Regions from separate parts of the Homo sapiens genome. Here all the other regions are linked to region 4. Evidence: promoter capture Hi-C in 16 types of primary human blood cells and fetal thymus (Javierre and others, 2016). All regions are on one chromosome and are shown on one strand. The core of a region is centred on a gene start or on the middle of the fragment in contact, and the rest is flanking DNA. Distances in the headings are between cores, read along the strand shown.

Region 1 (3,534 bases), core at 997-3,496, 560 kb before region 4:
GATTGTAATGATATTTATTGGGAAAGGATATATGTCATTGATTTGAGCTTGTATTGCCAAATTGCATACCTACATGCATAATGAAATTGGATTAGTAGTAGTATTCCTTTGATAGTTTGTGGAAAGGAGGGCTCAGAGGGAGAAATTTTGTGTGAAGATTTCGTTAAATAATAGCCCAGAGTTTTGCCGTTACAAATTCATAAAAATTTAAGAATCAGTTGGATTTTTAAAAAATACCTTATTTCTATATCAGATTTCATGATCATATAAAATTAAATATGGTTAAACATGGACCTGGCTAATATTTTGTTAGCTTCTTTATGAATAATTTCACCGCTGATGTACTTCCCTGAAGATGCCTGTTCCTTATTAATTTTCAGCTAAAATTTACTCAAGATAAGAACTGAGGAGGTTGACAAAATTATTTCTTTTAATAATATAAATTAATGGGACTCAAGTTTATGGAATTTTCTACACAAACATCATCCAAGAAACAGTTTAGGACTGGATAAGAAGTCTACTGCTGCATTTTTTATTTTAACACAGAATTCTGATTATTTTTGTTTTGTCATAAATATTATTTTATATGATTCCACGTGGAGGGTTTGTTTTTTTTTTTCATTTTTTATTTTTACACCCAGGAGAAACTTTTCAAATGCTCAAAGTTGACTTAATCCCTTCCTTTTAAAAGTGAATGTTTGCAACAAGGATTTTTAGTTACTTGTAGAAGGTTGACTTCCTGGTTTCTGTAAGTATGATGGTCAAATGAGTCTTATCATGAGCATGATAGTATCTAGATGTCAGCTGTGAAATAAGCATTTGAGAGAATGCTTAGTTTCTTCTGAATAATCCAAGTACAAATCATGTGTAAAATTAACCATGATACTTGTATAAAAAGCTATTTGAACTTACCTTTAAAAAATACTTTTTTTATTTTTCTTTGAGACAGAATCTCGCTCTGTCGCCCAGGCTGGAGTGCAGTGGCACAATCTCAGCTCAGTGCAACTTCCCGGGTTCAAGCGATTCACCTGCCTCAGCCTCCCGAGTAGCTGGGACTGCAGGTGTGTGGCACCAGGCCTGGCTAATTTTTGTATTTTTAGTAAGAGATGGGGTTTCACCATGTTGGCCAGGCTGGTCTTGAACTCCTGGTCTCAGGTGATTTGCCTGCCTCAGCCTCCGAAAGTGCTGAGATTACAAGTGTGAGGCACTGTGCCCAGCCAAAAAGTACTTTTAATGTTTTATCAGTGTAAAGAGGTAATATAGCTCATGTAGCTATTTTTCAAAGGAAAAATACAATTTTGGATGAATTCAATTGTTCTCAGTTCTCAATAAAAAAAAATTAAGTTTTTACATTGGCCTTAGAGCTGTACATTATCTCCCCACCCCAGATTTCTTCTGACTTGAATTCCTGCTACTCTCTTTTTGTTTGCTCTGCTCTAACCCTACTGGCTGCCTTCTACCTCTGGTTCTTCGCACTGCTGTTTCCTTAGCCTTAAACCTTCTTCAGCCGCTTACACCATGAACCTTTTCATGTCCTTGCTCAGATGTCGCATCATCAACAAGATCTTCCTTGGTCACTACCACTACCACCTAATCCCCCTCGCCTGTGTTATCTTTTCTCCTAGTGTTTATTGTTACCTGACATCCTTTTTAAATTACTTGTTTACTGTCGTTTTATCTCCTCCAGAATGTAAACTCCAAGAAGGCAGGCAGTTAGTCTACTTTGCCTTCCTAGCATATTTATTTAAAGTGCCTGGGATGGTGATTATAGCAATATAAGCTTAGACTGTGTCTCCTTTTCAGAAATTTGTTTACATTTTGGTTTGTTTCTCAAGTCTTTAATGGAAATGAGAATGGGAGAGGTGGGGATGGGTAGAAGTTAAGGGTTGAAGGGTATCAGGTAAGTGGAAAGGGAAAGAAGGCGAATGATTTGTCTTTGAGTGCAACTCAGGGTCTTAGACTTTTTTCTCTTTAGACTTACCAGTTAGGCTCTAATTTAGGAAAAATAAAACAAAAACTTACATGGGTTTGGAGTAAAATTAGCTGGAGTAAAATCCAAGGCTAGATTTCTATTGAACTAGAACCTCAGCTTTCTGCTTATAAACAAAAAAAATAAAGAAATAAACCAGGCTTTGTGTTGCCATGAGAGACACTACAGATAGTGTGAATGTCACAAGCTCTTTTGCCAGACAGATTTGGATACAGTCCTGGCCTTACCTCTTAGCACCTCCATGATCTTTTGAAGTTTATTTGCTCTCTGAGCCTCAACTTCCTCATCTAAAAAAATGGGAATAATATAAAATTTATAGGCTTAAAGAAGCAAATGAGATTATGTCATTAAGATACCTAGAAAAGTCCCTGGCATATAGTATTCAAAATTATGGCTATTTTTTTTTAAGGAGCATTTCTATTTTTTCCTTCACTTTTTTGGTTCTGCCAAGTAAATAAATTCCTTGATATCAGGAATTATCTTCTCTGTGACTTTTAGATATGCTTTCTTAAAAATTCTCCGCTGTCAGTTTTGAAGTCCAGTTATTACGTTCTGAAATGATAAAGAGGAAGGAATGACTTACCTACTGGGGGAAAATGAAAAATAATTTATTTCCACAATCTAGAAAGACAAAGGTTGAAAAAAAATAGACTCTATATACTCTGGAGAAGTGTATTTATATGTTTTAAATTCTACAATCAAGAAACAGCCTTTAAAGCTTTAATATGATATAAGTACCTTCCTGAACAGGGTAGGTATTTGCTCCCCTGAGGAAATAGTAAGGGCTCCTGTAATTTATGGATAACAGAGCTCTAACAAAAAGATAGGTAGTAATCAGGATGTGTATTTAACTTACGAAAGTTGACACTATAGAGGATAACTCCCATAGCCTTTTATAAAAATATCCTTTCACATAAATGAGGAAGGAACCAGGAGAGTTTTTTTTTTTTTGTTTTGTTTTTTTTTTTTTTTTTTTTTTTTTAAAGACATAGTCTTGCTCTGTTACCCAGGCTGGAGGGCAGTGGCACCATCTCTCGGTTTACTGCAACCTCCACCTACCAGGTTCAAATGATTCTCCTGCCTCAGCCTCCTGAGTAGCTGGGATTACAGGCATGCATCACCAGGCCCAACTAATTTTTGTATTTTTAGTAGAGATGGGGTTTCACCATGTTGGCCAGGCTGGTCTCGAACTCCTGACCCCAGGTGATCCACCCACCACGGCCTCCCAAAGTGCTGGGATTACAGCTGTGAGCCACCATGCCCAGCCCAGGAGAGATTTTGAAATCTGAACCAGAAACCTGATCAGGAAGGAATTTTGATTGGTGGATATTTCTTCAGTTCATTCATGTTATATCCATTTTAAATTCCTATTAACTCTTTAAATTGAAAGTTGATTAGGACAGTTTTACAGAAGATATACTACACATTTTAGAAGTCAAGTATAAGCTAACCAGTGAATTCTTACTTTTATATTGGAAATAGATTTCCAGAATAGCAGGGTAGTAAAAGACTAATCGTATCCAAATTTTAGTTCAGAATAAATA
Region 2 (3,551 bases), core at 1,002-3,501, 980 kb before region 4:
GGGGTGAACCCAGGGGAGATCAGCAGAAGAACTGCCTGGCTGAGTCCGGTCCAAATTATAGAACCATAACATAGAAATGGTTATTGTTTGAAATCACTAATTTTTTTTTTGAGATGGAGTCTTGTTCTGTCACCCAGGCTGGAGTGCAGTGGCATTATCTTAGCTCACTGCAACCTCCACCTCCCAGGTTCAGGCGATTCTCCCACCTCAGCCTCCTGAGTAGCTGGGATTACAGGCATGCACCACCATGCCTCGCTAATTTTTGTATTTTTTGTAGAGACGGGGTTTCACCATGTTGGTCAGGCTGGTCTTGAACTCCTGACCTCATGATCCACCCGCCTCGGCCTCCCAAAGTGCTGGGATTACAGGAGTGAGCCACCACGCCCGGCCTGAAATCACTAATGTTTTAATAATATTTTTATTGAGATATAATTCACATACCATAATGTCCACCTTTATAAAGTGTACAATTCCATGGATTCAAGTATAAAGGTGTGCAGCCATCACCACTGTCTAATTTGAGAACGTTTTCAACACCCCACCCCCAAAAACCTACTACCCATTGGCAGTCACTTCCCACTGCTCCCACAACTACCACAGCCCGTGGCAACCACTAACCTACTTTCTGTCTTTACAGACTTGCCTACTTTGGACACTTCATATGAATGAAATGACATAACGTGGCCTTTTGTGACTGATTTCTTTCACTTATCATAATGTTTTCAAGCTTAATCATGTTGTAGTCTATATCAGTACTTCATTTCTTTTTACTGCCTAATATTTCATTGTTTGAATATACCACATTTTGTTTGTCCATTCATCAGCTGATGGACATTTGGATTGCTCCTATTTTGACTTATATTATGACTAATGCCACTATGAATATTCATGTATAAGTTTTCATGTGAACATGTTTTTAATTTTCTTGAGTATATACCTAGGACTGGTATTACTGGCCATATGATAGCTCCATGTTTAACATGTTGGGGAACTGCCAAACTGTTTTCCAAAGCAGTTGCACCATTTTACAATCCCACCAGCAATGTGTGAGGGTTCCAATTTCTCCACATCCTTGTCAGCACTTGCACTGTCTTTTACTTCAGCCATCCTAGTGGGGGTAAAATGTCATCTCATTGTGGTTTTGATTTGTATTTTCCTACTGACTAATGATTTGAACATCTTTTCGTGTGCTATTGACCATTTTTATGTCTTCTTTGAAGAAATGTCTATTCAAATCCTTTGCCCATTTTAAAATGGAGTGTTTTGTTGTTTAATTGTTGGGTTGTAAGGGTTCTTTTTGTATTTTGGATACAAATCTCTTATGCAATATAGGACTTACAAACATTTTCTTCTACTCTTGGATTGTCTTTTCACTTTCTTGATGACATCTTTTGAAGCACCAAAGTTTTAAAAATATCTATTTTTTAAAATCTACTAAGTTTTGATAAGGTGCGTTATACAGCACTAGATCATGGACACACTTTCCCATTTTTAAGATGAGGAAACTAGAGCCCAGAGAGCTTAAATGACCTGTTTAAAGTTACACGGCAAATAGCTGATAGTATATTGCTATAATCTATCATCTATCTATCTATCTATCTATCTATCTATCTATCTATCTATCTGTCTGTCTATCACCATCTTGGACTACAGTGCGAGCAGAATGTTCTGGATTCAGAGTCATAAAGGGACAATGATGGAAGGTTATTTGAAAAACATGCGATCCATCAGTTCCTCCACACATTCTGCACTGTCTACGCTGATTCCTTAAGGTCTTCAAAAGGCAACTTACTTGACCCCTCAGTCTTGGCTGCCTTACAAATGTGCTTACAGGGAGTCGTGCTTGTCATCGTGCTCTCAGCTTTCATCAGGGAACAATGCAAGAATCACTTTTAGGAAACCTGCTCTCCATTACCGAGGGAACTTATTGAGGATGTTGTCCCCCTGTCACTTGTTATCTCCACTTTGATGCTTTGGAAGAAAAGTCCTTGCAGATATAAGTGCCACAAAATACTTTCCTTCATCTGAGCAACAGTGTGCTTCCTCCTCATGAAGAATACAAATAAGAATATCGTCTTTTTTTATTTTTCAGTGTGGCTGCCAGGAAGCTCAGAGTAAGGAAACAGGATATTTATTCATTGAGGAGGCTCTAGACAGGACTGCCTATCTTCATTCTGATTTTCTCTTTAATCTTCACCTTCCATCTCTCTATCAAGTCATTTAACAGATATTTATTGACAGCCTATTATGTGTTAGGACTGAAAGATGAATGAAATAGACATGATGCCTGACCACAATCTGTGGTGCCCCTGCCCATATCCTCTTGGGCCATCTCATTATGATACAGGACGGCCCAACTTCTAATGGCCCTAGGGCTTTCTCTGGCTGACCAGTGTGATTTCCCCAGTCAGAGCATCCCTGAAGAGCTGGAAAATTAACCCCTACCCCACCCCAGTGAGCTGTGCTCAGCCAGTGATTGAAAAGAGTTGGTTTATTAAACACCCAGCACCCTCACCCCTAAGGGCAGAGGGTAGGAAGCGCTGAGATGCATGCATGTTCTACACTGTCTCCAAGGGCTGAGCTCCAGCTGCCCACAGAGGTAGCTGCCTTGAACACATGCCTCTCTCAGGCATCTCTGCTCCGCTTTCCTGAGCCCCTACCCGTGCTTCTTGGGATAACCGGCAAAATGAAGCCTTCTTTCAGGATCTTCTTTAGGGGAAACCTAAACTAAGATAGCCCCTAATAGCATGGAGTTTATGTCCTATTAAACATAACCAAATCATTATTCAGCAGCTGTAGTGAGACGTTCTGGATGTAGGGACGTGAAATCAAAGCCAAGACCTGAAGGGTGGGTAGGACACAGCCCAGAGAGAGAGTGCAGGTGGGGAATGAATGACATGCCTGGCAGGTGTCACAGCCTCTGCTAAGGCCCAGAGGTGGGAAAGGGCTGGCATGTACCAGGAACTGAAGGAAAGACATTCATAGCATTGCTGAGCCAACCAATGAGGCAGAGCATGGCAAAGGCTCTTGAACATCATAAAGCAAGGCCCCAAGTGACTAGGGACTTATGCAGAGGATCCAGGAAGAAATGTATGTTTTTATTGTTAAATAATGAGGCTAACTTCTCTGCTTCAACGAAATATCCGGTGAATATTTTACTATCTCGGTTTGTATGTGTCACTCAAGTGTCCAAAACCCCACCCCTGACCTCCTTTGTTCATCCTTTGAGTGGGAGCAGCGGGACAGGAACAACCAAGGGCTTTGGACTCAAATCAACCTGGGCTTAATCCCTAATTAGCCAACACAGGGATGTTGATACCTTTCTCCAGCCCAGGGGTGTGTCCTGGATTGAAAGGGATAATCTTAGCCTAAGAGAGCTGTTCTGCAGGCTAGCTTTATATCTTCACACTCCAAGATCAGAGGAGTCTGGTGTCTTGTGTTTACATACAGATGCACACCCTCTTTTCCTGCAGCTCCAGGATCCCCTGTGAACTTGGAAAAATGCATTTGGATGATGGCTCTGAAGAGAATGAGTCACAGCATTGCACCAG
Region 3 (3,993 bases), core at 585-3,084, 570 kb before region 4:
TCACTTATTGTTTGTGATTTTTTTTTTCCTTCACCTTTTTGTTCCATCCAGACCTGCCCACAATGAGGGCAGATCTTCCCCACTCAGTCCACTGACTCACATGCCAGTCTCCTCCAGAAACATCCTCATGGATTTCTACAGAAATAATGCCATACCAGCTATCTAAGTATCCTTTAATTCAGTCAGATGGACACCTAAAATTAGTCATGACAGGTCCTTTGCCTCTTTTAATCAGGTTGTTTTCTTGCTTTTGAGTTGAGTTTATTATATACTTTGAATATAAATTCTTTATCAAATATACGGTTTGCTAATATATACATGTGATTTTTTTTTTTTCTGTGCAAAAGCTTTTTCATTTAATGCAGTCCCATTTGCCAGTTTTTGTTTTTGTTGCTTGTGCTTTCAGGTCATATCCAAAAAAATATTGCCCAGACCAGTATTGTGGTGCTTCCCCGCCTTGTTTATAGTTTTATAATTTCAGGTCTTATATTTAAGTCTTTAATGTATTTTGAGCTGATTTTTATATATGGTATGAGATAAGGATCCAGTTTCATTCTTCTGCATCTGGATATCCAGTTTTCCTAACATCTTTTATTGAAGAGGCTGTTCTTTCCACATTATGTGTTCTTGGCACCTTTGTCAAAAATCAAGTGACCATAAATGAGTGAATTTATTTCTGGGCTTTCTGTCCTGTTCCATTGGTCACTGTGTCTGTTTTTATGCCAATACTATGCTGTCTTGATTACAGTAGCTTTATAATATATTTTGAAATCAGCAGTGTGATGCCTCCAGCTTTGTTTTTTTCGCTGGTTATTGTTTTTAACTATTCATGGTCTTTTATTGTTTCATATGAATTTAAGGGTTGTTTTTTCTATTTTCTGTGAAAAATTACATTGGAATTTTGATAGGGATTGCACTGAATTTGTGGATTGCTTTGGATAATATGGACATTTTAACAATATTAATTTTTTAGTTCATGAACACAGTATATCTTCTCATTTATTTGTGTTTTCTTCAATTTGTTTTCATTAATGTTTTATAGTTTTTAGTATACAGATCTTTTACCTGTTTGGTTAAATTTTCACCTAAATATGTTACTTTTTTTTGTTGTTGCTATTATAAATGGGATTGTTTTCTTAATTTCCTTTTTAGATAGTTTGTTGTTAGTATACAGAAAGGCTACTGATTTTTTTTGTATGTTGATTTTGTATCTTGCAACTTAATTCATTTGTCAGTTTCAGTCATTTTTTGGTGTCTCTTTAGGGATTTCTCTGTGTAAGATCATGTCTGCAAATAAAATTTCATTTCTTTCTTTTTTATTAGGATGCCTTTTACTTCTTTCTCTTGCCTAATTGTTCTGGCTAGGACTTGCAGCACTATGGTGGATAGGAGTGGTGAGGGTGGGCAGCATTCTTGTCCCTCGTCTTAGAAGAAAGCTTTCAACTTTGTACGTTAAGTGTGATGTTAGCTGTGGGCCTGCCATTTTTGGCCTTTACAGGACCTGTTATTGATGTGTAATTTTAGTGTTTTATTATTCTACAAAAAGCAAGTAAGCCTTAGAAATATCTGATTACTGCTAAATTTGTAGAATGGAATAAATTCAGTACTTAGAATAGGATGCTGTCTGTATTTTTATATATTATTATAGAGCAGTGTCTAGATTACAACATGAATTAATAACTAGATTCTAAAATACCTACAGGGAATTTGTCCTGGGGCAAGAACCATGCCTTCCATATTGTAGGATAGTCAGCACTGGAAAGGGATCTTAAAGATTAAGTAGTTAAATCAACTCCGTTACAGATGAGGCAAAACTAAGGCCCTTGGAATTATTTGATTTGGTTGCTTCCATTTGGTCACTTTCCAAGATCTCAAAGATATCTTAACGCAGTTTTCTTTATGTCAAATTTAGTTTTTTGTCCATATTGTCTGCCCTGGTATGTCACCTCTCAATTCTACCTAGTGGCTTAGCATTATAAGTAATTTCTTTTCTCTTGTAGCTATAAGCATATAAGCTCTTTAGTAAATACTTGCTTGTTTAATTTGATAATATTTGGTATGTTGGTTTATTCACTTGTCTAGTAATATGTGCCAGTTACTATGCTGGTTCCTGTGAAGGCAAGTCCAATCATGCATAATTTCTTCTCCCTGCTTTTTAATGTTATTTCCTTATATCAGATTATCAGTTGTACCTGCATTCTCACCCTCTTCCTTTGCCTCGTCTTAAGCTTTCAGGCTGCAGTTTATGGTAGGCAGACTTTTAAGATGGTCCCCTGTATTATTTCTGGTATTGTAAGCATGATAGGGTATTGTATGAGTTTGTTCTCCCTCTGCTATGAAGAACTACCTGAGACTGGGTAATTTATTAAAAAAGAGGTTTAATTGACTCACAGTTCTGCATGGCTGTGGGGGCCTCAGGAAACTTACAATCATGGCAGAAGGCACCTCTTCACAGGGTGACAGGAGAGAGAATGACTGCCAGCAGGGCAAATGCTACATACTTATACAACCATCAGATCTCCTGAGACTCACTTATTATCATGAGAATAGCATGGGGGAACTGCCCCCCATGATTCATTTACCTCCACCTAGTCCCATCCTTGACACGTAGGGATTATTACAATTTAAGATTAAATTTGGGTAGGGATACAGAGCCAAACCATATCAGGTCTCATTCCTGATTAGTTTATGTCATCTGGCAGAGCACAAAGCTGACTCTAGGTAAGTGAGATTATCTAGATGGGTGTGCCCTAATCACATGAACTCTAAATCTGGGTCTAGAGTTAGGAACAAAGAGAGTAGGAGATTAGACGTATGAGAGGGATTTGATGTGAAGGATATTCTCTCTTGCTGGCTTTGAAGATGGAGGGAGCCATATGGTAAGAACTCAGGCATTCTCTGCTAGTGGAGGGTGACCTCTGGCTGACAACTGGGAAAGGAAAATGGAGGTCTTAGAAGGACAAAGAACTGACCATTTCCTGAATGAGCCAAAAAACAGATTTTTTTTCCTTTAGTCAGGTCTCTAGGTGAGAACACAGCCCATCAACACCTTGATTTCAACTTTGTGTAACCCTCAGCAGAGAACCCAGTCACACCATGCCTGAATTACTGCCCTTAAAACTGTGAACTAAAAGATTATTTGTTTTAAGCTGTTGCACTTTTTTAAAATAGCTACTATTTATCATACTCTGGGTATAAAAACAGGGAATAAACAAGATTCCTATCTCCAGAGTTAGAGCCATTGAACATGAAACAAGTCAATTAATATGATGATTGTTACAAGGGAGACGTTCAGAGTGCTATGGACACCTATTAGGCTGATGTAATACCAGCTGGGAGACCACGAAAGGAGCTCCAGAAAAAAGATACTTATGTATGATACGCATTTTTTATTGCTGCATAACAAATTACTAAGTGTTAGAAGCGAATGAATATAAAGAAAACATAGCCCCTGACTTCAGCAAGTTTATGATCTAAAGGTATTTGGTTATATTATGTGTGGGTATTGACGGGGCTAGGGCGGAGAGGGTGTGTGTGTGTGTGTGTGTGTGTGTGTGTGTGTGTGTGTGTGTGTGTGTGTGTAGTTTGGTTTTGGTGATGGGAGCAGTCAACTGTCCAGGTTGCCCCTCTGAAGTCACTGCTCTGACAGACCATAAACAGAAAACTGCAAATGATAACAAACTTACTATTTCATAAGAGAATACTACCATTCTCCATATTTCGGGTACACATGTGTTTTGTTTCGCCCTTTCTGTTTCAAGTTTATTGAAAAGAAGCCTGTTTAGCTTAATTGTACTTGGGCAGCTGACACTTGACTAGTTCAAAAGATAATAAACTCATCATTTAGAACACATGTGTCTTTGTATATGAGAAATAAATAACAGTTACAAATACTGTAGGTCAAGGTTTCATCATTGGTTTGGAAGATAAATATGTACAGTGAGGGTTTGGGGTTTTATTTACACAGAAACTAGATTACTTCCCCCACACCCT
Region 4 (3,655 bases), core at 1,156-3,655:
GAAAAAACAAAATCAACTGAATGCCCAAGAGTCTGTAAATTAATTATAGTACACTGGACAGGCACAGAGGCTCACGCCTGTAATTCCAGCATTTTGGGAGACTGAGGCAGGAAGATCGCTTGACCCAGGAGTTCGAAACCAGCCTGGGCAACACAGCGAGACTCCATTTCTACACAAAAAAAAAAAAAAAAAAAAAATTAGCCAAGTGTGGTTGTGTCTACCTGTAGTCCCACCAATTGGGAGACTGAGGCAGGAGGATTGCTTGAGCTTTGCAGTTTGAGGCTGCAATGAGCTATTATTAGTGGGCCACGGCACTCCAGGCTGAGTGACAGGGCAAGACGCTGTCTCTTAAAAAAAAAAATATGGTACACCCACATAATGAACTACTGTGCAGCTATTACTAAAAACAGTATAAACCAGTTTGTAAAAAAAAAAAAAAAGCATATACACATACGCATAAAAAAACACAAAAATATAGTCACACACCACATAACATTTCAGTCAACAACAGACTGAATATATGATAGTGGTCCCCTAAGATTATAATGGAGTTGAAAAATTCCTATTGCCTGGTCATGTCATAGCCATCATAATGTCATAGCACAACACTTTACTCGCATGTTTGTGGTGATGCTGATGTAAACAAACCTACTGGGGTGCCAGTGGTGTAAAAGTCTACCACACACAATAATGTAGAGTACATAATACTTGATAATCAACAACTATGTTACTGGTTTATGTATTTACTATGCTATACTATGTACTGTTAGTATACTCCTTTTATAAAAAAAAGTTAACTATAAAACAGTCTCTGACATGTCCTTCAGGAGATATTTCAAGAGACATTGTTATCATAGGAGACGACAGTTTCATTCCTGTTATTGCTCCTGAAGACCTCCCAGTGGGACAAGATTGGAGGTGGAAGACAGTAATATTGATGATCCTGACGAGGTGTAGGCCTAGGCTAACGTGTGCCTTAGTTTTTAACTAAAGAATAAAAAAAAAAAAAGAAACAAAAAAACTTACCAAATAAAGATATAAAGAAAATGTTTGTGTAACTGCACAATAAGTTCGTTTTAAGCTATTACAAAAGAGTTAAAAAGTTAAGAAAATTTAGAAGTTTATAAAGTAAAAGGGTTACCGTAAGCTAAGGTTAGTTTATTACTGAAGAAAGATTAAAAAAATTTAGCGTAGCCTAAGGGTACACTGCTTATAAAGTCTACAAGAGTAGAGCAGTGAATGTCCCAGGCCTTCACATTCACTCACCACTACTCACCAACTCAGAGCAACTTCCAGTCCTGCAAGCTCCTTTTGTGGGTAAGTGCCCCACACTGGTGTAGTATTTTTTTTTTATCTTTTATGCTGCATGTTTACTGTACCTTTTCTATGTTTAGATGCACAAATACTTACCACTGCATGTAACTGCACACACCACTGAGTACAGCAACACGCTGCGCAGGCCTGTAACCTAGGAGCAACAGGCCATGCCATACAGCTTAGGTGTGGAACAGGCTGTACCATTCAGGCTTGTGTAAGCGCTTTCTACGGTGTTCGCACAACAACAAAATGGCCTAAGAACACATTTCTCAGAAAATATCACATCGCTAAGGACGCATGACTGTATGTCAAATGCTATGACAGGAGATGGTTTTTATTCTTTTTAAGTTTATTTAACGAGCATGCATTATTTTGATATATATCACAGGCCATTTCCCGCTAGCTGTAAATCAGAGTCAAGTGACAGCAAGAATTGGCTACTAACTACCCATATCTAACACCTGCCCCCCAAAGCGGCTCAACGGTGGGCATTTGCCAGTCAGGACTACAGGTGGAGGAGCGGCGGCTGCAAGCCGCGACCCAGCCTCCCCGCAGCCTCAGCGTCGGCCTCTGCACTCGGGCTTGCCGCTCCCAACAAGAGGAGGGCCGGGAGGCGGACGAGGGAAAAGCAAAGCCGGGGCCGCTAGCCTCCGCACCCGGATCCCGCCCCTCGGCCGCAGGCCCGGGCCGCACTCCGACTGAGCAACTCCGACCGAAGCGCCGGGCCCGGCCCTACCTTGTAATAAAACACCGCCTCGGAGTAGCGGCCTTCGTGGTCGCGCTGAACCGCCAGACGGGCGAACTGCACAGCGTCCCGCTCCAGTGCTGTGGCGTCCATGGCGCAGTGGCCCCGCGCCGGGGCAGGGAAGGAGGCCCTGACGCAGGACGGCTCTTCGCGGACTGCGGCGGCCCGGCGGCGGCGAGGACTCGGGAGCGCCGCGGAAGGAGCGGCAAAGTTTACTTTGGACGGTGGAGGAGAGCTCGCCTTCCCGTTGCCGGGCTGGGGTCCACCGCGAAGCCGCGCCCCTCAGCCCAGACCCGGCTTGTAGCCCACCCGGCCGCCCCACTTCGCGGCCCCAGCGGCCCTCGCCCCGCCCACCAGCCGCCCGACGCAGGCGCAGCCTGGCCCTCACGAGCTCCTTAGAAGCTGGGGCCGCCGAGGCCAGGCTCGCGGGACTGCGCGGGCTGTGGGCGGGGCCGGGCCCACGCAGGAGCCGGGCCGCGGGGGCGGGGCAAAAAGGCCTGCCGCTGTGCACGTGACCGTCGCGGCGCCCGGGATTGAGCAGCTGAGGGCAGGTGCCACGTCCGAGCTGCCCACACACCGCCTTATGCGTGGCGGTGGCGGTGCAGGGCGAGGCTGTTTTCGTCGACAGTGGGCAGTAGAGGGGTACGCGCCTTACAGATCCTTTCCTCTGTTAAGTGTAAGGGATGGGAGTAAAGAGCTAAGGAAGAATGCCTCCCACCAGCATCTGACACATTAAAAAAATTACCGTGAGGACAGAGGTTCTTTAGAGTCACTCTTCGCTAACATTTATTTTCATTTGTTTTCCACAAGCTGAATCATGACCCTATAGCCCCCCACTGTACACCAAGGTCGTATTGATTGAATTGTTAACAAACAAGGTAATGTATTTCCACTTGTACTTACCCTTAGGTTAACTTGATGCTGTTGTAATTAAATACTTAATTAGGTGATTATTTGATTTATGTCTTCTCTCCCCTAAAGGTCTGAAGTCAGCAGTAATAAAAATGAATTAGTGATGGGCACCACCAAATTCATGCTGAGTCAAAGAAGTAAGAATTGAGTACATAATGTATAATTCCATCTATAAGAAACACTAGAAAACACTACGATGTTAGAAAGCAGATCAGTGGTTGGGAAGGGGATACAAAGGAATCTTTTCGGATGATGAGAATGTTTTATATCTCAATGGTGGTGTAAAAATATATACGTTTGTCAAAACTTATCAAACTACATTTTAAGTGTGTACTTTTAATTTTTTAATTATACTCTAAATTTTTTTTCAGTCATTTGGCCTGCATTTAAAATGGGACTCTAATTTCTTAGTTTAAGTGTATTTCTTCACATTTAGTGAAGTTCTTAATAACAACGGTCTCATCAGGCTGTTATAAAGACACACAGAATTTGATTTTGTGCCTGGCCCAAAGATGGCTCTCAAAGGTAGCAACTACAGTTTTATAGCTGAAGCAGGGATGCTTCCTGTCTTTACCACTTTGATCCCAGCGTTGAGCGCAAGCCTTGTTCCAGAGCAGGTGTTCAACAAATATTTTAAAATGTTGAATGAGTCAACTCCACTACTTAAATATATCTAATGTG

What was found. The method cuts DNA at HindIII sites, captures the fragments that hold promoters and counts their contacts. A CHiCAGO score of 5 or more calls a contact.
Region 1: a fragment that was not itself captured here is called in contact with the fragment with the promoter of CAPN7 in region 4 in 1 of 17 cell types (M0 macrophages); the score reaches 5.0 in M0 macrophages.
Region 2: a contact is called between a fragment that was not itself captured here and the fragment with the promoter of CAPN7 in region 4, in 1 of 17 cell types (total B cells). The highest score is 5.0, in total B cells.
Region 3: a fragment that was not itself captured here is called in contact with the fragment with the promoter of CAPN7 in region 4 in 1 of 17 cell types (M1 macrophages); the score reaches 5.5 in M1 macrophages.

Annotation. Positions count from the first base shown.
Region 1 is chr3:15,761,627-15,765,160 of GRCh38, reverse strand. All of the region lies in intron 3 of ANKRD28 (ankyrin repeat domain 28), which reads left to right. It overlaps LOC101927647 (a long non-coding RNA gene), which reads right to left. Exons shown (of 2, transcript XR_001740422.2): 2 at 2,975-3,534. Among named protein-coding and RNA genes, the nearest start is that of ANKRD28, 35 kb to the left of the region's middle. The HindIII fragment of the contact is 928 bases long and covers 1,783-2,710 here.
Region 2 is chr3:16,183,823-16,187,373 of GRCh38, reverse strand. All of the region lies in intron 1 of GALNT15 (polypeptide N-acetylgalactosaminyltransferase 15), which reads right to left. Among named protein-coding and RNA genes, the nearest start is that of GALNT15, 11 kb to the right of the region's middle. The HindIII fragment of the contact is 3,044 bases long and covers 730-3,551 here.
Region 3 is chr3:15,777,439-15,781,431 of GRCh38, reverse strand. The region is part of intron 2 of ANKRD28 (ankyrin repeat domain 28); the gene reads left to right. Among named protein-coding and RNA genes, the nearest start is that of ANKRD28, 19 kb to the left of the region's middle. The HindIII fragment of the contact is 792 bases long and covers 1,439-2,230 here.
Region 4 is chr3:15,204,996-15,208,650 of GRCh38, reverse strand. It overlaps CAPN7 (calpain 7), which reads right to left and starts at 2,405. Exons shown (of 21, transcript NM_014296.3): 1 at 2,054-2,405. The coding sequence starts at 2,155. It also overlaps the pseudogene COL6A4P1. RefSeq lists a silencer at 2,180-2,699. The HindIII fragment of the contact is 5,244 bases long and covers 1-3,655 here.